Regions from separate parts of the Homo sapiens genome. Here all the other regions are linked to region 4. The links are contacts of gene promoters, found by promoter capture Hi-C in blood cells and fetal thymus (Javierre and others, 2016). All regions are on one chromosome and are shown on one strand. Each heading gives the region's core, a stretch centred on a gene start or on the middle of the fragment in contact. The rest is flanking DNA. Distances are from core to core; before and after follow the strand shown. Region 1 has its middle 9.4 kb from the start of LINC02155. Region 2 overlaps LINC02842 (long intergenic non-protein coding RNA 2842). Region 3 overlaps LINC02842 (long intergenic non-protein coding RNA 2842). Region 4 holds the start of GGH (gamma-glutamyl hydrolase). Region 5 overlaps LINC02842 (long intergenic non-protein coding RNA 2842).

Region 1 (3,972 bases), core at 177-2,676, 1.2 Mb after region 4:
TTTTCATCACAGTATATCTATCACAAATAATAACACTCTTTTTTTGTTCAGTTTTGTCTCCTTCACTAGAAATTAAACTTCCAGAGGTCATGGTGTTTGTCTTTTTCCTTGGTATGTTCCCAATATTTTACAATCAGCCAAGCCTGAGTAAATAATTAATGAATGAACAAAATTATATCCTTAAGTATTTTATAGTGTAAATTTTAATAATTCCTAAAATAAAAACCTAGTGGAATAACTGGCAAGATGGCAAAATAGAAGTTTGCAGCTCTTATCTTCCCAACAAACATCAATTTCGACAACTATACAAGGATGAGAGTATTTTTGAGGGAGAATAGGAGGCCAGTAGAGAGATGCCAGCACCCTATAGGTGTCTATTCTAATCTATGAATAGACACATTGAAGAGGGTAAGAGAACAGTTTCACTATATCCTCATCACCCCTCCACCAAAGCAGCACAGCTCAGTGCTGTGCCAGGAGACCCTCTTTGCCTTTAATTTATCTCACAGGGGAAAGTGAGAGTATAATGAGCACCCTGTCTCCCTAGCCATTTGGGACACTACCGAGGAGGCCAACATCTGTCTTATCACACCCAGAAAACTGAGAGAATTGGGATTACTCAATAGTTTGCAGGCAGCTAGGAGAAGAAAAACTGAATAGGCACTCAGAGCAATGGAGCACAGAACTCAATAAAGTGTTGTGATTTTTACAAACCACTTCGCAAACTCCACCAAGAGTCCAGACCACCAACCTCATAACGCAGGTTAACTGCAGACCCCTAGGTGGTCCACATGTGTCCCTAGCACTCTACGTGCCCCTCCTTTTCATAAGCACCACCTTCTGTGCTCCCCTGAAGAAAGTACATGTGAGTCTACAAAAATCATACACAATACACAGACACCCAGATCAAACTCTACTTAACTCGGGAAAAGCATCTGACTTTGAACTCTTCAGGGCACTTCCCCAGGGGAAAAAAAAAAAAAAAAATGGCTTTGTGGGATGGAGATAAGGCATATGATACCAATACTTTCTCCCCAAAAGGGATAAAGAAAAATGGAGTGGGGCATCCACAGAAAAGATCTGAGAGACCCCCACAATGCCTAACTGGGATGACTGATGAAGATTTTTCACTCTCAAAGCCAGTCAGTAAAAACTGAATGAAGTGATTGTTTCTTGAAATGCAAAGAAGGCAACTCAAGATTTCAAGAAACAACAACAACAACAAAATTTCACATGACACCACCAAAGAAATGCAATAATGTTTTAATAACTGACCCCAAAGAAATATACATCTACAAATTACCTGACAAATAATTCAAAATAATGGCTTTAAGGAAGCTTAGCAAGCTCCAAGAGAACACAGACAACTCAGTGTTATCACCAAAACAATACACGAACAAATGAGACATTCAACTAATACATACAAATAAAAAAGATACGAACAGTAATTCTGGATCTGACGACTACAATGAATAGAATCCAAAATGGAGCAGAGAGCTTCAAAGGAAGCTTTCAAACATCTCAATACTAGCTCTTTACCCAATCAAGCAAAAGAAAAAAATCTATGAACTCAAAGACAGGTTACTTGAAATAATCCACTCAAATGAAAAAAAAAAATCGAAGAGTGTGGAAATAAAACCCTATGTGGTTTGTGGGATACCATCAAATGAACCAATGCATGTATTTGGAAATTCCAAGAAAGGAGCAGAAATCTTTTTTAAAGAAATAATGGCTAAAAAAATCTCAAACGCCCAGCTATTTTTTGTATTATTAGTAGAATCGGGGTTTCACCATGTTGGCCCAGCTGGTCTCAAGCTCCTGACCTCAGTTGATCTGCCCACCTCGGACTCCCAAAGTGCTGAGATTACAGGAATGAGCCACCATGCCTGACAGAGCTTTTTTTAAATCAGTATTTTGAATTCTTTATCTTGAATTTTGAAAATTTCTTTGTGATTAAGATTTATTGCTGGAAAATTATTGTATTCCTTTGGAGGTGTCATATTTTCTTGTTTTTCATGCTTCCTGTGTCCATACATTGATATCTGTGCATCTGGTGTAATAGTCAGTTTCCCTATTTTTTAATTTACTTTCATAGGGGAGGACTTCTTCCTAAAAAATGTATGCCCCACAAAAGACTTATTTCAGGGCTAATTCCATTTGCAAGCCCTCTGAATAGCCATCTCAAAATATGCTGAAGAAGGATATTTTGGCATGAAATATTTTTATTTCCTTCAACTTCATGACCTCATTTACATGTGGCATCTTAAGAAGTTAAACTCACAAAAGTTGACATTAAAATGGTGATTACCAGGAGCTGGGGCTTAAAAGGTGCAAAGTTCTTGATCTACCAGATCAATAAGACTATAGTTAATAATATTGTATTACATTCTTGAAATTTGCTAATATAATAGTTCTTACATGTTCTCACCACAAATAGGAAATTATAACTATGTGAGCTGAAGAATATATTTATTATTTTGATTTCTGTAATCATTTCATGATGATATACATATTAAAACTTCATGTTGTACAACTGAAATTTATATAATTTTATTTGTCAATTATACCTCAATAAAGCTGGAAATAAATATCTATTTGAAATTTGCAATAAAATACAGAAATTATATTTTCAAACTTACATATTAACTAGTTTGTGGGCTGTCAGAGAAGAACTTCAGACGAGAACTGTCTTACTTCCTGTCCTGTGTTATTTCTATCACTTGAGCTTCTTTCTCAGTAACATATTAAACAAAAATGTGTATATTAGAGATTCCATACATCTGTAAGATATCTAAACCAATAATTAAATTTATTGCTAAGTCAACACATGACCCTAATAGATATCGATATATGCAGTATAATTTGTTTAAAAATAAACATAGGAAAAGGAAGATGAGAGAATGGAGACTTTCAGTTTACTGTTATTTTTATTTTTTTAATTTTTAAATTAAAGGTACACAGCTGTTGATATCCATATTATTAATACCTATTTTTCAGTAAATCTACAGTTTCCTTTAATGTGTACATATAGTCATTATTTTTGTAGAATTGTTGTATAAAAGAAAAAAATAGTATAAGTGCCATAATTGTACATTACTTTTATACTCTATCTGCCTACAAATTTTAGATTGTGCTCCTCAATAGCAAGAAAGAGAAAAAGTTAAGAAGTGACATTTACTTTCTAACCTTAATCTTTAACTAATTCTATTTATGTCATAGTAGATTCTGAATTCATTTTAATGTAGCTATAATCTTTCTAAATTCATACTTTTTTATTTTAGGGAAATGTGTTGTCTTGTATATATTTTTGCAAAGACTATAATCATGCTGGCATGTACACAAACAAAACAAAAGATAGGGGAGAGAAAAGATACACATTGCAAAGCTATATCAAATGGCATAAGTGACTTCATGTTGTATTTTCCCTGGCTTCTTCTATTCCACCGGATGAATGACTGTCATTTTGCATTTATCAGTCTGAGGCAGTGACATGGTGAGGCCTGTATTGTGATGGATGAAACTGTCAGAACCTACCGAGTACTTAGATATTGCACCAGTGAATTATATTTACAAAGGGCTGCTTTATAGAAAAGTGTGATTGCTCTCTTCTATGACTATTCTTTGCGGTGTTAAGGATATGCACTCATAGTCAAAGAACAATGATGCATTTTCCCTTTTATCAACCTATCATCTCTTTTGTGCCTCTTAGCTATCATTGAAGCAAACCCCAAAGCTTTTGTCCATGAGCTTTTAGTCTAAGGATGAAATATTTTTTCTTCACTTAACTTCAAACAATCAATATAGCAAAGGCAAGGCACTTGGAAATCAAGTTTATCATGCCATATTTTGTAGATGGGAAGAATAAACCACCATAGCTGACTAGAAAACTAGCCTTATGAAGACTTGGAATAAATACACTGCCTCATTTTTTCTCAGTGTGCTATATCCAATAGAAGCATTTTTAATGAATAA
Region 2 (4,415 bases), core at 167-2,666, 1.2 Mb after region 4:
GGAAAGAGATTTTCAATGAAGGATGCCCTCAGAATGAAATGAGTAGAAGATATAATGTGTTAGACATTCATACACTGGGACACTCAGACCTATGCACTGAGTGCTATTAGGTGTACTTTGCAAAGACATCAAGAAGAAGAAAGAAAGAGAAAGAAAGAAAGAAAGAAAGAAAGAAAGAAAGAAAGAAAGAAAGAAAGAAAGAAAGAAAGGAAGGAAGGAAGGAAGGAAGGAAGGAAGGAAGGAAGGAAGGAAGAGAAAGAAAGAAAGGAAGGAAGAAAGGAAGAAAGAAAAAGAAAGAAAGAAAGAAAGAAAGAGAGAGAGAAAGAAAGAAAGAAAAAGAAGGAAGGAAGGAAGGAAGGAAGGAAGGAAGGAAGGAAAGGAGGGAGGGAGGGAAGGAAGGAGGGAAAGAGGAAGGAAAGGAGGGAAGGAGGGAAGAAGGGAAGGAGGGAGGAAGGAAGGGTTAGTTCATTCTTTTTTTTGAGACGGAGTTTCACTCTTGTCGCCCAGGCTGGAGTGCAGTGGCACATCTCAGCTCACTGCAACCTCCTCCTCCCAGATTCAAGCAATTCTCCTGCCTCAGCCTCCGGAGTAGCTGGGATTACAGGCGCCCACTGCCACACCCAGCTAATTTTTTGTATGTTTAGTAGAGACTGGGTTTCGCCATGTTGGGCAGGCTGGTCTCGAACTCCTGACCTCAGGTGAGCCACCTGCCTCGGCCTCCCAAAGTGCTGGAATTACAGGCTTGAGCCACTGTGCCCGGCCAGTTCATTCTTCTCTGAGGGAAGCTCAGGTTTAAGACCAGAAATGAGACCAGAATTTATGATACTTGCTATTCCCCCTTGTCATATATTTACTTATATTAAAGACAGCACTGGCAGGGCACAATGGCTCACGCCTGTAATCCCAGCACTTTGAGGTTGCAGTGAGCCGAGATTGTGACACTGCACCCCAGCCTGGGGGACAGAGTGAGATCTGTCTCAAAAATTTAAAAACTAAAATAAAATAAAGAAAGCACTGAGGTGAACATTACCACTTGATGTGTTTTAGGTTCCTAAAGATTAACTATGGAAGGTGCAATGAAGAAAAATTCTAAGTAGCACTTTGTTCTGATTTCTGCCTCCCTGTAAGCTGGAGTTCTTCTTTACTGCAGCTCAGTGGCCATAGGCCCCCAGGGATTTAGAGAGAAGAGCATGACCCTCAAGACTCAGAGGTCATGGTAAAGGAACTGCTGAGGGACTAGAGTAAAAGAAAAGCTCCTCACTTGTTATCATATTGAGGGGGGATGATGAGTATGGTTGGAGAATGTGCTAAAAAATGTGTTCTTGGCAGGCATGTACACACACACACACATGCACACACACACACACACACACATCTTTTTCCTTCAGTTTAGAATTATGAGCTTGCCATTAGGATAAAAAATAAAGACAGAGGTGTGTCCCAAAGCAAAAATATGGAGAGTTTTTTCTTCCCTATCAGCAGCATCAGAAAGAGGGTGGAAGGCTGGGTGCAGTGGCTCACACCTGTAATTTCAAAACGTGGGAGGCCGAGGTGGGAGGATTGCTTGAGCCCAGGAGTTCAAAACCAGCCTGGGTAATATAGTGAGACTTTATCTCTACAACAAAATAAACAAAATTAGCCAGGCATGGTGGCCTGCTAATTCGGGAGGCTGAAGTGGGAGGATTGCTTGAGCTAGGGAGGTAGAGGTTGGAGTGAGCCAAAATCACACCGCTGCACTCCAGCCTGGGTGACAAAGTGAAACCCTGTCTCAAAAAAAAAAAAAGGGAAAGAAAGAAAAAAGAAAGAGGAACAAATGTGTGCCCTGTTCGTAGCCCCAGGATCTTCTCCACCCCAGGACTTTTATCCCCACCTCTAAACCCTGAGAAGAATCTTCATTTTCCTAGACAAAGAAGCATTCTATTTGTCTAGGTCTGGAAAGATCTTTAGACTAGAGGTTTAAAAAAAAGATGATGGATACTTTAAAGGGCAGCGTAAACAATAAAAACTATTAAAGGTCAATTGATCTGAGCTGTCTGGCAGGGAGAGCTTACAGACTCTCCACAAAGGGTGAGCTGGGCTGCAGTCCACAAAATGCCGGGTCAGAGCAAGCTGGAGATGACTGACAGGGAGAACTCTCCTGGGCTCAGAGTGTCTCAACGCCAGGAACCTCATTAGGACATCTTCCCTCCACACTGTGACTTGACACTTCTTTATCAAATGATTCTTCAGGTAAAGACCCTGGAATTTGAAAATGATTGACTACACTGGGCAACAGATATAATTGGAAATTCAAGAATATTTCCTTTATTAATCCTCTCTTTTAGAGGAGTGCAGTCTTCTTAAGGATCCATATGCTTGGAGTGTCATGTTAGACAAAACAGAAAACAACTTAGTGATTGCTCTCTAGAAATGTATGAACTAATAAAATTGAATGAAGAAAAAATATACATACTTTTTAAAGGGAAAAAGATGCTTTTATTTTTTTATTCAGTCTGGAAGTTATTTTCATATAAGGTAAGAAGTACATTTTATCTGCAGAGAAACTCTTTTCATCTGAACTTGACCCATGTTAACCTCATTGGTTATAGGGGGTCACAGGAATATGAAACCTCCCCATATGTTCTTTGGAATAGTTTCAACTTTAGTTTCATTGTTTAAAAGTTGTTCTTCTTTGTGCTTTTACTTCCTTTTAATATTCTTCCTGCTGCTATTTCCAAGTAGTTAATTTAACTGGCAGTGGATTAACTCACCTTGGCTAGCAATGGAACAATGAAAAATTTAACACAGTGTTTATTTATTCCTGTATGTGTGTGTGTGGTTGTACATATGGCACACTGGAATAAGTAAGGAAGCCGAACTTATTAAAGTGCAATTCATAAAATACATCCTTATAAGTGTGTCACAACCTGGATACTAAAATCCAGCAAGAATTTTGTTAATTCTACCTTGTTATAATTTATTTTTATTTGATTTTCAAGAGTTTTCTGAGACTGTAGGAAGTCATCATTGCTATTCTTGTACTTATAATTTTTATTATTAAGTAATATGAAAAAAGAGGAAGGGAAGAGAAAGGAACTGGGACAGTAAGCATAAGAAAAGGTGCATTGCCTATTTAGGCTAAAAGAATGCAGATTACTAATTATCATTCATTTGATTGTGAATGTTATATTTAAACTTTCCTCAAATGATTATTTGTATTGTGTGATATTATCAGGAAAATCTTTGGAATAAGTATTAAAAGTATGCTGTTTAAAACCTTAATTTTTAAGCTTTTAGGAAAGATGTTTCATTGTCAACAAATAGTGAATGTAGGTTAAAGCAATAATAATGATCATTCAAAAGACTCCATCAAAAACAGATATCTAAATATCTATGGTGCATAATACCAAGGCTTGTTTTTGAACTTTTCTTTTTTTTTGACAGGGAGTTTCACTTTTGTCACCCAGGCTGGGGAGCAATGGCGCGACCTCGGCTCACTGCAACCTCTGCCTCCCAGGTTCAAGCTATTCTCCTGCCTCAGCCTCCGGAGTAGCTGAGATTACAGGCGCACGCCACCACGCCCAGCTAATTTTTGTGTGTAGAGATGGGGTTTCACCATGTTGGCCAAATTGGTCTCAAACTCCGGACCTCAGATGATGACGCCCTCTTCGGCCTCTCAAAGTGCTGGGATTACAGGCGTGAGCCACCGCGCCGGCCTTTTTTGAATCTTTACGCAGCGTAAGACAGCAGCAGCTTAAGTTTGAGCGCTAATGGAAAACACATCTATTCTTTGCTGACCCCTAGTGTCCACAGCAAGTAAGCGTGGAATCTAAAAATCCCAAAGGAAAAACATGGCAGTTTGAGAAATGACATTTTGTTTCATTCAAAACAAGAAAGAAAGAAAAAATGCGTTCCAAAATAAAATAATTCACCTCCAGTAAATTATATAGTTAGCACAGAAACATACATAAAGAATGAAACAGATATTTTCAAATTCAGCTTCTGCTTTTGATAGAGGGTAAATCTGAGGAAGACTTTTCAGGGCTATGGAGCACAATCTGAATTGTTTTGTGGGAACCACTTCTTTCTCTCTGGCTACACTGGCCTCAAATCTGTTCTACAAGCATGTGAAGATAATCTTTGGGTTTTCAAATCCTTCCAGCACTACCCGACCACCACTCTGGGCAGCATCACCGCCATCACCAGGACCAACAGCCTTGTCGACATGACCACCCGCTGGGAGCAAGAAACAGGTGGTCTCCCCTCCATGAGGCTGTGAGGACAAATAAATGTTACCTAAGCAAAGTGAAAGAGACAGAGACAGGCACAGAATTCTTTCTTTCTTAGACCAATCAAAATCACACATTTTTGCTTCCCTTATGGTGAACTGAAGCAATCACTCAGTAATTGTCTGCCCTAACTACAGTTTACAAGGC
Region 3 (3,944 bases), core at 538-3,037, 1.2 Mb after region 4:
GGGCTGAAAATGTATGTCCAACTCCAAACCTGCACATAGATGTTTACAGCAGTTTTATTAATTGCCAAAACTGGGAAGCAACCCAGATGTTGAAGAAAATTCAAATATTTCACCCTAAAATATATTTCCTTGAAGATAGATATTAAGAAAGGCTGAAGGTGCAAGAAGAAATGAAAAGTTGTCTTTTGTAGGGGAGATTTGCTTTGTAGAGATCTGCATTGATGCAGCCTGGCTTTTTCTGAGGCCTTTCCTTGTCTGGATCTAGGAATGATAAACTGAGAGTCTGACACCTTTAAGCAACTGAAAGAAACATTTACCATTTATTCTTTCTGAGGACTGCCATCTGTGAGAGTGTATTTACATAACGAGTCCACCTTTGCTAGCCAGGCCTTCTCTTCTCCCCCTCCCATAACCTATTTTGCCACCATAATCTGTTTCACGATAATCCAAGCCCCCATTCTTTCAGTAACCTCAAGATGGTATATAAGTTTCTGAACCGCACTGGGGCTTGAGGTAATCACTCTATGGTTCTCCTTTATGTGCATATTAATAAATTTGATTCCATTTTTCCTAATAATCTCCTTTTGTGAGTTGACTTTTCAGTGAACCTTCAGAGAGTGGAGGGGAAGTTTTCTTTGGCTCCTACAATGTCTTTTAGCAGGGGAATGAATGAGTTAACTCTGGTACATTGAGACAATGAAATATTATTTAGTGCTAAAAAGAAATGAGCATCAAACCATGAACAGACATAGAAGAAATGGAAATGCATATTACTAAGTGAAAGAAATCAATCTTAAAATGCTACATACTGTATGGTCTCAACTGTATGACATTCTGGAAAAGGCAAAACTGTGGCAACAGTAAAAATATAAGTGATTGCAAGGTACTAGGGGAAAGGGAGAGATAATAGGCAGAAGACAGGATATTTAGAGGAGTGAAACTATTCTGCATGACACTATAATAATGGATACATGTCATTACAGATTTGTCAGAACCCATAAAATGTACAACCCCAGAATGATCTTTAATGTCAACTGTGAACTTTTGGTGATATTGACCAGTGAAAGTCAACAAAAGTTTATTGACAGTAACAAATATACCACTTTGGACCAGGATATTGGTAGTGGGGAGGCTATGTATGTGTGGCAGTGAAGGGTATATGGGAATTCTCTGTCCTTGCTGTCTGATTTTGCTCTGAACCTAAATCTGCTTTTAAAAAATATCTCTATAAAAATTTGTTCAGGGAAACATAAAATGATATATTCAGAAACTCAGTCTATGTAAAGAAACCATCAAGAAAAGATAAATAATATGTAGAGGTAAAAGTAAATTCTCTTATGAGACTTCCTGTCAAACAACTTTGTATCAGCCCATTACTTGTTCCCTTTTGCATTTAAAAGCCTGCTTGTAACAAAGGTGACAGAGCACTCCCCAAGGCCACTTGGAAGTGGTCCCAGGCAGCTGTCCTCACTTTGGTTCAAGTATACTCTTCAAATTACATTTTATGCTTAGGCTTCTTTCTTTTAAGCTGACAAAAACAACATATTGCATGATTATATTATATGAATATGTGTAATTAATGACAGCAATTTTATAAGGAAGAGATGAATTGGGAAAACTCTGATAGATATCAGCACTACCTATGAAGCATTTTAGTATTAAGTGTACTTTGTTATAAATGTACATTGCAAACTCTAGTGCAACCACACAAAACATTCTTTAAAGAATTATAATATTGTGAATGGGGTGAGTAATTCTAACCCTGAGGATCTAAAATCAATTTCCATGGCTTAAAAGCCAAAGGGATGGCAGAATTTGGCCACAGCTCAGGATGCCAAGAGCTTTTACTTTTAGATGCCATAGTAGCTGGGCTCCCACTGGGTTCTTTTTACAGAACAAATGAATGACACAGCAGCCTCTGCTTCCCGTTTTTAAACTATGTTTGGCTTTAAAACTCTTAATGACAAGAAATAACCTCCTACAGCAAAATTGAGGGCTTGGTCGCCAGTTGGGTGAGGGCTCCTGTAGCTGGAGTGGGAGTGTGAGCTAGGCGCAGGATACCGCTGCTGGAGCTGGAGAGCAAACCCTGCCTAGACCGGAGTGTGAGCGGGATGTGCATTTTCCACCTGCTGGACTGGGCTGTGCTCACTGAGGACAGCTCCACCTTCTCCAGTGGCAGGGCTTAAGTGCAGCTGCCACAACCCCTCACACAAGTACTCTGTCTGGCTGAGGACTGCACCATCCCCAGCCCCCATGACCAGTGCCGACTCTCATCATTGAGGGCCTCAGCACAAGCCTGCCCAGCCCAGCCCAGCCTTGCCCCCCACCCTCCCTAGACAGAGCACACAGCCCAGGGTCCTGGGGATTGCTCAAGCCGCCAACTTGGGCACCTGATCACTCTTCCCAGGGGCCTGAGGTTGTTGCTCCTAAACTCCCAGTCGCTACCAACACAGCTGGCACCTACCCGCCAGTACCACCTGCGAACTTGCAGACTGGGCCACTCAGCCCATCTCAGTCACCACCAACATCAGTGCACACTGCTGCAGATCCAGAGAATCATCTCACCACTGCTGCAGACATTGCCCATGCCACACTGACTTCTGAGGGCCTAAGAACGTGCCCCCCTGCTCAGTCTACTGCTGCCACTGCCAGAATCCAAGCAAGCCACCTTGAAGCCCAAGAATTAGCCTGCTGATAGCTATCAACACAGGTGCCAGAATACACTGCCCTGGGACACAAAGATAGGCACACCCAGCCCACCACTGCCACCACTGGCCTGCAGACTGGCCCACTGGCATCACAGTACCCAGCACAGCTTTACCACAGCCTTCACTAAAACTGCCACCCAGCCCACTGAGGAAATCACAGGTACCACTAACACTGTTTACAGCCAAAGAAATCAGAGACTACACTACTGCATGTACCCAGAATCAAAGGGAAGTATGCCACCCAACTAACACCGAGATACATCTCCAGGAAAGAGTCTTATCAGATGTGCAAATGTCAACATAAGGACACATGAAACAGGAAACAAGGAAGTATGACACCTCCAAAGAAACACAATAATTTTCTAGCAATAAACCTTAATAAAAAAGAAATTTTCAGAATCCTAGCTAAAGAATTCAAAATATTGAGTTTAAAGAAGCCCAATGAGGTTCAAGAGAATTCTGAAAAACAACACAAAGAAATCAGAATAATAATTCAAGATATTAATAGGAAATTTACCAAGAAGATAGATTTTTTAAAGGAACCAAATAGAAATTCTACAGCTAGAAAATTCATTGAAGGAAATACAAAATACATTTGAGTCCTTCAACAATAGACTAGAAATGCATCAAAGTTAAGGAATTAACTGTGGAAACTATTTTAAAATGATCATAGTTGAGATAATTTCCAACTTTTTATATTTATTTAGTTTACCTACATATTTTTTATTCTTTTAATTTGAAATGACTTTTAAGTAACTTCTAAACTGGACAAAATTATATGTTCTTGACAAATGCACATTTTTTATGCTTTTATAACTTTTCTTACCAAAAATATATCTTGCTATTTTTATACACTCTGTATACAGAATTGTTTCTTTTATATCTAGTAGTTTTAATTACATATATTAACTACAATTTTAACTCTTAGTAACCCTAATTGCTTGTGAAAACCCTAGGAAGTAATTTTGAATTATTTTATAAAACTATTTGAAGATGAAAACCACTTTATAATTTTTTGAAAGCTATGCTTCTCACTTTTTTGTTTAACAGATCTAAACATATGTAGCTGTTCTATATCATGTGAAAATAAGATAACAACATATGTTAACCTGTATTTATGTTTAATAATTAATGTTTCAGTATTTTAACTTATTTAGAAATGACTCAGCCATTTTATGATTATCTATTACTTAATTTAACATAAGATGACTTTAAGATTATGAATTACTGAAAATA
Region 4 (4,243 bases), core at 933-3,432:
TTTTTTTTGTTCACATGAGCACGCATTAATCTAGGTACACACTTATATCCAGAATGTACTGGGTTACAGAACATTTAGATCTTCACCTTTACCAGATATTGCTTAATTTTTCTCAAAAATAGTTATAATAATTACAATTCCACAAGAAATGCAGAGAACTGTCATTTTACTACATCCTTGACTTATTATCAAAGGCTTACATTTTTGTCAATTTACAGAAACCTGCTTCCAAAGATGGAGGAAGCTGGGAGACCAAAGAGGCTGACCAATCGAATTTCTCAGAAAGAAATACTTAGTAGAGACAAACAGAAGCGACCCCTGCACTTGCCCTCCAGAAAGTATGCTTTATTTAGCAAGCCTCTAGGGTAAAGACAAGTGCAACTAGTTAGCTCTTAGACTATTGTGATCACTGGGGACGTTAGATAAGCATCTTTATGAGGGGTTATATATGTTATGAGCATTGTTTAAAGACCTTTGCTGCAGAACACCTCGGTATGCTGTGGGTCAAACATCAGTCCCCAGGATAGTTTTGCTTCAAGATGGTGTCACTCTTGCCAGGAAACAGGCTGTTTTTCTACACAGTCTAATGGATGTGACATATTATCTTGCATTTTTCTGATGACTACAGAAAGTTTGGTTTGCTTTTCACATTCTTTTTCCATTTTTCTATTGTGTCATTTTTCTTATTATTTCTTCGCATATTTTAGAAATACTTTATATTTTATAACTATATTTTCCAAGTTTGTGCTTTAACTTTAATTTTCTTATATAGTCAATTTTTAATTAACATTTTTATTTTTAATGTTTTATGAAACTCTTCCAACAGCCTAAGTTAGGAAGATATATTTATATATTTTCTTATCAAAGTATAATATTTTGCTTTCGTATTTACATATGCACTTCACCTCGAGTTTATTTTTGTGTGTAACGCCGGGTAAAAAATTTTTCCTATGTGGATAGTCAATTATTCTGGCACCACAAGTTCATATTTACAAGGCTACTTGTCTATTTAATCATGCTCAAAACCAGCTCGGCCCTTTCATGTCTTTCATCACATCCTTTGTTGCTTACCTCTCACCACACCCTTCTACAGAAGCGTTATTTTCTTGTTAAACCAGACTATTCACTGCATTTACTCTTCTTGCAACATGCTAAAATTGTTCCTGTTGTCTCTACGAGTCACGCTTTCTGCCTTTTTTCCTTACTGAATTTAAACCTCTTGTGAAAAAGACTGTCCAATTTACGTTTTCACCCTTAATACTGAGCATTGATGTAGCAGGTTTTCAAATATTCTTGTTTTATGCTGAATTTCAGTTGGCCCTTATAGATGGAAACTTTCACTGAGTACAAGCTATATATCCATGTATTTAGGAACAATCAACAGTTTTAACGAATAGGAACCAGTCATCTTTTCTGCCCCGGTGGATAGGCTTAGTGGTGGTCGGTGGATGGCGCTGACCGCGGTTGATCAGAGGAAGCTGACGCCGTTTGCAGGCGTGGCCTGGGCGTGCCCGCTTCAAAGTAGACGCCCGGAGTTGGCCCAGTTCTGACCCTAGTGATGCGCCTGTGCGTGTGTTCCTATCGCCGTCCCGTCTTCACTTCCTACAGATGCCGCGACCCCCCAAATAGCAAGTGTGGACATTCACATTCAGGGGCACAGGCTGTCCGTACAGCGAACGTTGTCACCATTCCCGGAGATAGGGCCCCGACCTTCAAGGGGGCGGTGCGGTTGGCGCGCAGTTCTCAGGCGCCTTCTAGAATCCCCTGCCAGCCTCCCCGCTGCCTGGTTACCAAACTCGGCCGGGGACACCCAACCTCCCCTCTCGAGGACCTGGGTTGGCCAGCCCAGCTTTGTACGGGTGACTGAAGTCCACATCGACGTAACAGTTGAAAGGGAAGGACGCGGAGACCACCCGGTACCCGCCCCAGGCGTTTCCAGAGTCTCCGCTTAGGCGGCCCGTGGGGGTCGGGGTCGCGGTCGCGGTCGCGGACCGGGGACAGAGCAATGGGGCGGGCGCGCAGCGCCGGCTGCACTCCCAGAGCCTCCCACCGCCGCCCCACGGCCGCCTAGCGCGCGCCGGGACTGCATTTCCCATAGGCCCACGCTGCGGAGCACCGCCCACCCGAGTCTCACGCGAGTGCGCTGCCGCGAGGTGTCCCTGCCGCAGCCCCCGCCCGCCCGCAGAGCTTTTGAAAGGCGGCGGGAGGCGGCGAGCGCCATGGCCAGTCCGGGCTGCCTGCTGTGCGTGCTGGGCCTGCTACTCTGCGGGGCGGCGAGCCTCGAGCTGTCTAGACCCCACGGCGACACCGCCAAGAAGCCCATCATCGGTAAGGAGGCTGTGCGGGGCCGCAGCAGACGGGGAGGAGCTGGGTGTTGGCGCTGGGCGCCTCCCGCCGCCGCGCTCCAGCTGGCGCGTCCCGCCGGGAAAAACCCCCAGATGTGCTTCGCTTTTGGTGCAAGGAGGAACCCGGGCTGGGCACCATTTAGGTCGTACTGAAATGTACCTGGTTGAGGTACCTCGTTCATTCCTTTAGACTCATATGACTCTTAAAGGTGGGAGGGAGGAGGGTGCACCATGAAGAATCCTGCGGATTTTCTTTTTTTGTACACAGCTAGGAATTTCTACTAAAATAAAACATTTCCTTTTCGCACATAGTTGGGAAGTTTTACTCATTTACATCTACAAATTCTGTACATGCATTGCATTCATCAAAATGTATTGATGGCGTATTTAAAATACCAGTGCATTGTAATAGAAAATCAAGAAATTAAGGTATAACTTGGATTTTGTCATGTTCAGTAGCAGAGGACAACAGTGGCTGATATCCTAATGTGAGTTCTATTTGGTGTTAAAATGCAGCCCACAATTTTTCGTTTCCAACATATTTGTGTTTTAAAGAGGTAGTAAAATCAGTCTGTGTTACCAAAACACACATTTGAGACAGGCCCAAGGAAAGCTACCTAGGAGAAATCATCCTGGGGTTAAAATTTGCCCAAAGAAATTTGTGTGTGGACATTAAGATTAGTTTTATTTTGGCTGTAGGATTATGCCTTTCATACTATTTTTTTCTATGAATATTATCACTGTATTCTGTAACTAAACAGAAAGTAGATGAATGTTTTTTCATATAGGTAGTGCCCAGTTTTCAAATGGGTTGCTTACTAATATTTGGAACTTATTTCATAGCTGTTTAACATGGTGATTTGATTCTCCACGAATTAACTCAAGCTGTAATTAATGTAACAGGTTGCATATTGTGTGTCCAGAGAAGAGAAAAAAAAGCAGAGGGGATTCTTCCCCTTTCCTAGAATCAGGGGTAGCCCTGCGTCAAATATTTAAAAAAGGGACTTTGCTTTTGGTCACTGAGATCAGCACAACATCGTTAACTGAGTACCGACTATGTACACAATCTTGCTCTGGGAAGTGCAAAGGATTGAAAGATGACAAGCCACAAAAGTTGTGAGATGGCCTTAAATTATTGGTGGAATTTTGGTCATATTTTGAGGGACAGGGAGAACAGCTTGAGCTCTTTTCCCAGGGATGGGAAAAGTGAATATGCGTGGGCCCAGGGGAAGGGGAGATGTTGGTGGAACTCACTCTGATGTACTTCTCTTTCTGGTACCCTTGTGCTCCCATGATGCCCCATGTCTCCTTTGTGGTACCTCACCCCATGTACCCTGTACCACTCCATTTCCTATGACACTCCTAGTTCTTCGTTCCCTAGCCAAACTTTGTTATTCCTTAGTGAAGATGATCTTACCTACCAGTAAGGAGAAAAAGTTTTACTGAACAAATTTTGGCGTTTGACATGTTAATCTGAATACCTGATGAATGCCAATTGTAAGAAGCTGGGAATACAAAAGTGAGTAATACAGACAACAGCTCTTCCTATCAGGTGGCCTACAGAGACACTGAAAGTGTTCCAAATGCTGAAGTGCTGAATAGGAGTAGGCACAGGTACTCACCCGACAGACGTGTTTTGATGTATACTGGTTGCTATACTCTGCTGGGGCTGGGTTTCACTGGTAAAAGGAGGCCAGAGAGATGGGTGGGGCAGAGCATACGGGTCTTACAGAGTTTATTAAAGTTTAGGGACCCACTGAGGTAGTTAAACAAAGTGGTGACACCTGCTTGCTGATCTATCGCTACCTGATGTCCTTTCCTATTGCTTTCTGCTTTCACTCACCTGGCTCTAATAATATGGATTCCTTGCAACGTGACAGGCACAAATCTGACTCCTG
Region 5 (4,527 bases), core at 369-2,868, 1.2 Mb after region 4:
CTTACTAGACAAATGCTTAAAACCAGCTGTTACAAATACAGTCAAAAACTAGAAGAAACTGTGTCTAAAGAAATAAAAGGGAGTATATGAATAACCAAATTGAGACTATCAATAAAGATATAGAATTTTTTTAAAAAACGGGCCAAATAGAAATTCTAGACTTGAAAAGTACAATAAGTGATGTGTGAAATTCATAGGAGGGTCTCAGAAGCCGATGTAAGCTAGCAGAAGAAAGAATTAAGTAAACTTGAAGATAGATAAAGTCTGGAGAAATTTACAAAAATTAAGAGTACCCAGATACACATGGGATATTTTCAATATGCCAACACATGTATAATGTGAGTCTCAAAAGTAGAGGAGAGAAAGAAAGGAGCATAAAGAATAATTGAAGAAATAATGGCACCCTTTACAAATTTGATGAAAGTTTTATCTATGAATCTAAGAAGCTCAACAAACTTCAAGGAGGATAATCTCAAAGAAATCCACATGTACACACACTATAGTCAAACTGTCAAAACCTGGAAAGGAAAAAAAATCTTGAAAGCAGTGAGAAAAAAACAACTTATTACCTACAAAAAAATTCCCCAATAAGTTAACATTTGACTTATAATCAAAAACAACTGGAAGCCAAAAGGCAGTCACATGACATATTCAAAGTGCTGAAAGAAAAAGACCCTCAACCAAGAATCCTATATTCAACAAAACTATCCTTCAAAAATAAAGGAAAATGTAAGACATTTCCAGATAAACAAAAACCAAAAGAATTTTGTTGCTAGCAAACCTGGCCTAGAAAAAAAAAAAAAAAAGGCCATAGGGATTTCTTCAGGCTAAAATGAAAGAACATGATACAGTAAGCTGAAGCAACATGAAGAAATCAATAGCTCCAGTAAGTACCTACATAGGTAAAAATAAAAGACAATGTAAATGCATCTTTTGTTTTTAAGTCCTTTGTTCCCCTATCTGATGTAAAAGACAACTGCATAAAGCAATAATTACACAAGTGTGCTTGTCGGCTTACAATGTATAAAGATATAATTTACATGAGAAAATAGCAAAAAGGAGGAGGGAAGAAATAGAGTTAGACTGGAGTAAAGTTTTTGTATATTATTGAAATTTAGCTGATTTTATTATGCATTAGATTTTTTAAGCTAATCCGCTAATTGTAATACTAGGCACTAAGAAATAACTCAAAAAATTTAGCAAAATAAGAAAATTAAAATAGTGCAATAGAATAATGCATCTATTTAACACAAAACAGACAGTAATAGAAAAATATAAGGGCAAGAAAAAGATATAGGAAAGACAGCAAAATGGCTGTCATAAATCCTAATATATCAGTAATTATATCAAATGTAAATGAATTAACACTCCAATTAAAAGGCAGAGATTGGAAGATTGAATTTTTTTAAATGATACAACTACATACTGTCTAAAAGAGGTACACTTTAGATCCAAAAACACAAATAGTTTGAAAGCAAAATTTCTGAAAAAAAAATGTATCATCTAATCTAACCAAATGAAGGCTGGAGTGGCTATAATAATATCATACAAAAAGAAACACAAGATACTATGGAGCTATAAAAAGGAACGAGATCGTATTCTTTGCAAGGGCGTGGATGGAGCTGTAAGCCATCATCCTCAGCAAACTAACACAGGAACAGAAAACAAAACACCATATGTTCTCACTTATAAGTGGGAGCTGAACAATGAGAACACGTGAACACAGGGAGGGGAACAACACACACTGGGACCTGTTGGGGAGGCCGGGGAGAGGGAGACCATCAAGATAAACAGCTAATGCATGCTGGGCTTAATACCTAGGTGATGGGTAGATAGGTGCAGCAAACCACCACTGCATACATTTACCTGTGTAACAAAACTGCACATCTTGTACATATATCCCAAAACTTAAAACAAAATTTAATTTAAAAAAATTGCACTAGAGACAAAGAAGGACTTTTTATAATTATAAAGTGTCAATGTCCATCAAGAAGATATAGCACTTATAGACATATTAACAAAGTAAAATGCAACATATAGAATGGTAGAAAATATTTGCAAATCATAATTCCAATAAAAGTGTAGTTTCCAGAAAATACAAAGAATCCTCTCAACTTGCAATAAAAAGACAAATATCCAATTAAAAAATGGGCAAAGGATTTGCATAGTCATTTTTCCAAAAAAAGATATACATATAGATAATAAACACACAAAAAGATGATCAACAGCATTGGTCATTAGGGAAATGCAAATCGAAACCACAAGGAGATAGCCCTTCACACACACTAGAATGGCTAAAATCAAAAAGAAAGACAAGAACAAGTGTTAGAAAGAAGTCAGAGAAATTACAACCATCATACATTGCCGGTGTAAATGTAAAATGATGTAGATATTTTGGAAGACAGTTTGGCAAACGTTCAACAAGTTATTTATGGAATTTACTATATAACCCAGAAATTCTAATACTAGGTATATGCACGCACACAAAAAAATGAAAACAAGTGTCAAACAAAAACTTGAACAAGAATGTTCATAGGAGTAATACAATAGCCAAAATGTGGAAACAATATAAATTTCCATCGACCAATAAATGGATAAACAAAATGGGATGTATCCATGCAATGGAATATTATTCAACCATCAAAAGGAATGCAATACTGATACATGCAGCAACATGGATATACCTTGAAAAGACTATGCCAAGTGAAAGAAACCAGTCACAAAAGGCCACCTATTGTATAATTACATTGATATAAAATGTCCTCATATATATTATATCTGTGGAGGACTATCCACTTTTGTTCTAAAGAGAAGAAGTAGAGTTCCAAGTTACCCAGGAAAGACCTCCTCAAAAAAAGAGTTCAAAAACTATTGATTAAAAAGTCATAGCTACAAAATTGAGGAATCTTGATGACCCAATGTGTTTCATATTTCCACAGATATTTAAGGAGAGGCTTTACTTTACCCTCAGAAGTTTAGAAACCCTCCTTTTTTTTTTTTTTTTTTTTTTTTTTTTTTGAGACAGAGTCTTGCTCTGTCCCTCAGGCTGGAATGCAGTGGCATCATCTCGGCTCAATGCAAGCTCCGCCTCCTGGATTCATGCCGTTCTCCTGCCTCATCCTCTCGAGTAGCTGGGACTACAGGCGCCCGCCACCACACCTGGCTAATTTTTTGTATTTTTAGTAGAGACGGCGTTTCACCGTGTTAGCCAGGATGGTCTCGATCTCCTGACCTCGTGATCCACCCACCTCAGCCTCCCAAAGTGCTGGGATTACAGGCGTGAGCCACCGCGCCCGGCCTTAGAAACCCTTCTTAGGTACAGTCTCCATGTAACAGTTTCCTCAACTTCACAGGCACAGCCTTTGTGCCCTGGAAGACCATCCTCTTGAACATACGCCAAATTGTCTATGGAATGGTATTTCATATAGTGTGGAAAATGCTTGAAATATAAGCAAACTCTTTATCCTTATTATTAAAACATAAGCTTTAAAAAGAAGAGTTTTATAGTAAAGTTTTTACTACAGTTTATATAGTAAAAAGCCTATGAATTTGCTGACTGGGAAAGATTTTTTTAATTAAAACTATGAACATCTCAGGACCAACACAGGGCTGTTGAAATGTGGGAGTCATTGCCTAAAATCAGAATATCTCTGTTATAATTCTATTAATAGGGGAAACCTCAGCCAAGGTAGTTGGCCCTCTCAGACTCAGTTTTCTCTCTTGTGAAACTGAAGGTTTGAGCCTGAAATTTTCTTAGGTTTCTTTTACCTTCAATATTCTACGTCCCTGTGAATTTGGAGAATACCTCAAATCCTTGACAATTCAGGCAGTACATCATGTTATCCCAGGGTCTTAAATGAACCAGCGCACTGGGAGGAGACCATCCCCACATGACTCTTCTGTCCCTATCATCAGGGGTGAAAAGGCCTTACTGAGGGGGTACATCAGGCTTTCCCCAGAAGATTCCCTTCCATCCAAAGGGATGAAGATGGAAAATATACACTTCCTGCTCTACCAATAGGTATTAGAAGTCAAACAGGAGTCTCCTCCTTTAGACCTTCTACACCTCATCGAGACGAACAGGAAGCTGCTGAAATGCACACTTTTTTATCCTCCAATATCGTAGTCTCTGCCTTGATTATGCATTGGAATTAAACTCATGCCTTTTTTCTCTTTGTCACCCAAGGCTGGACTCCCAGTCATCCCTCAATCATCCACCAGCCCTTCGCTGATCCTTTTATTTCTTCTCTTCTCACCTTTCTCCATCTCAAATTCCAGAAATCCTTCTACTGTGCCTTTTAGAACTCCCCATCCATTATCTGCAAAATCCCTATATTCTTTTTTTTTTTTAATTTCAACTTTTATTTTAGATGCAGGGGATACATGTGCAGGTTTGTTGCATGGGTATATTGCACTCAGGTAGTGAGCATAGTACTGGATAGGTAGCTTAAACCCTTGCCTCTCCTTCCCTCCCACCCCAGTAGTCTGCAGTGTCTCTTGTTCCCATATTAATGTTCATGTCTGCTC

The links. Contacts are between HindIII fragments. The CHiCAGO score rates a contact against its expected background, and 5 or more counts as called.
Region 1: a contact is called between a fragment that was not itself captured here and the fragment with the promoter of GGH in region 4, in 1 of 17 cell types (monocytes). The highest score is 5.7, in monocytes.
Region 2: a fragment that was not itself captured here is called in contact with the fragment with the promoter of GGH in region 4 in 1 of 17 cell types (total B cells); the score reaches 8.1 in total B cells.
Region 3: a contact is called between a fragment that was not itself captured here and the fragment with the promoter of GGH in region 4, in 1 of 17 cell types (total B cells). The highest score is 7.5, in total B cells.
Region 5: a fragment that was not itself captured here is called in contact with the fragment with the promoter of GGH in region 4 in 1 of 17 cell types (total B cells); the score reaches 8.2 in total B cells.

The regions. Positions count from the first base shown.
Region 1 is chr8:61,878,445-61,882,416 of GRCh38, reverse strand. No RefSeq gene overlaps it. Among named protein-coding and RNA genes, the nearest start is that of LINC02155, 9.4 kb to the left of the region's middle. The HindIII fragment of the contact is 171 bases long and covers 1,341-1,511 here.
Region 2 is chr8:61,809,528-61,813,942 of GRCh38, reverse strand. The region is part of intron 1 of LINC02842 (long intergenic non-protein coding RNA 2842); the gene reads right to left. LOC105375871 (a long non-coding RNA gene) reads left to right here. Exons shown (of 3, transcript XR_928972.4): 3 at 3,424-3,463. Among named protein-coding and RNA genes, the nearest start is that of LINC02842, 27 kb to the right of the region's middle. The HindIII fragment of the contact is 3,711 bases long and covers 1-3,271 here.
Region 3 is chr8:61,835,143-61,839,086 of GRCh38, reverse strand. The region is part of intron 3 of LINC02842 (long intergenic non-protein coding RNA 2842); the gene reads right to left. Among named protein-coding and RNA genes, the nearest start is that of LINC02842, 52 kb to the right of the region's middle. The HindIII fragment of the contact is 6,801 bases long and covers 1-3,944 here.
Region 4 is chr8:63,036,745-63,040,987 of GRCh38, reverse strand. GGH (gamma-glutamyl hydrolase) reads left to right here and starts at 2,182. Exons shown (of 9, transcript NM_003878.3): 1 at 2,182-2,328. The coding sequence starts at 2,220. RefSeq lists a silencer at 1,789-2,148. The HindIII fragment of the contact is 10,760 bases long and covers 1-4,243 here.
Region 5 is chr8:61,792,758-61,797,284 of GRCh38, reverse strand. The region is part of intron 1 of LINC02842 (long intergenic non-protein coding RNA 2842); the gene reads right to left. Among named protein-coding and RNA genes, the nearest start is that of LINC02842, 10 kb to the right of the region's middle. The HindIII fragment of the contact is 3,736 bases long and covers 1-3,486 here.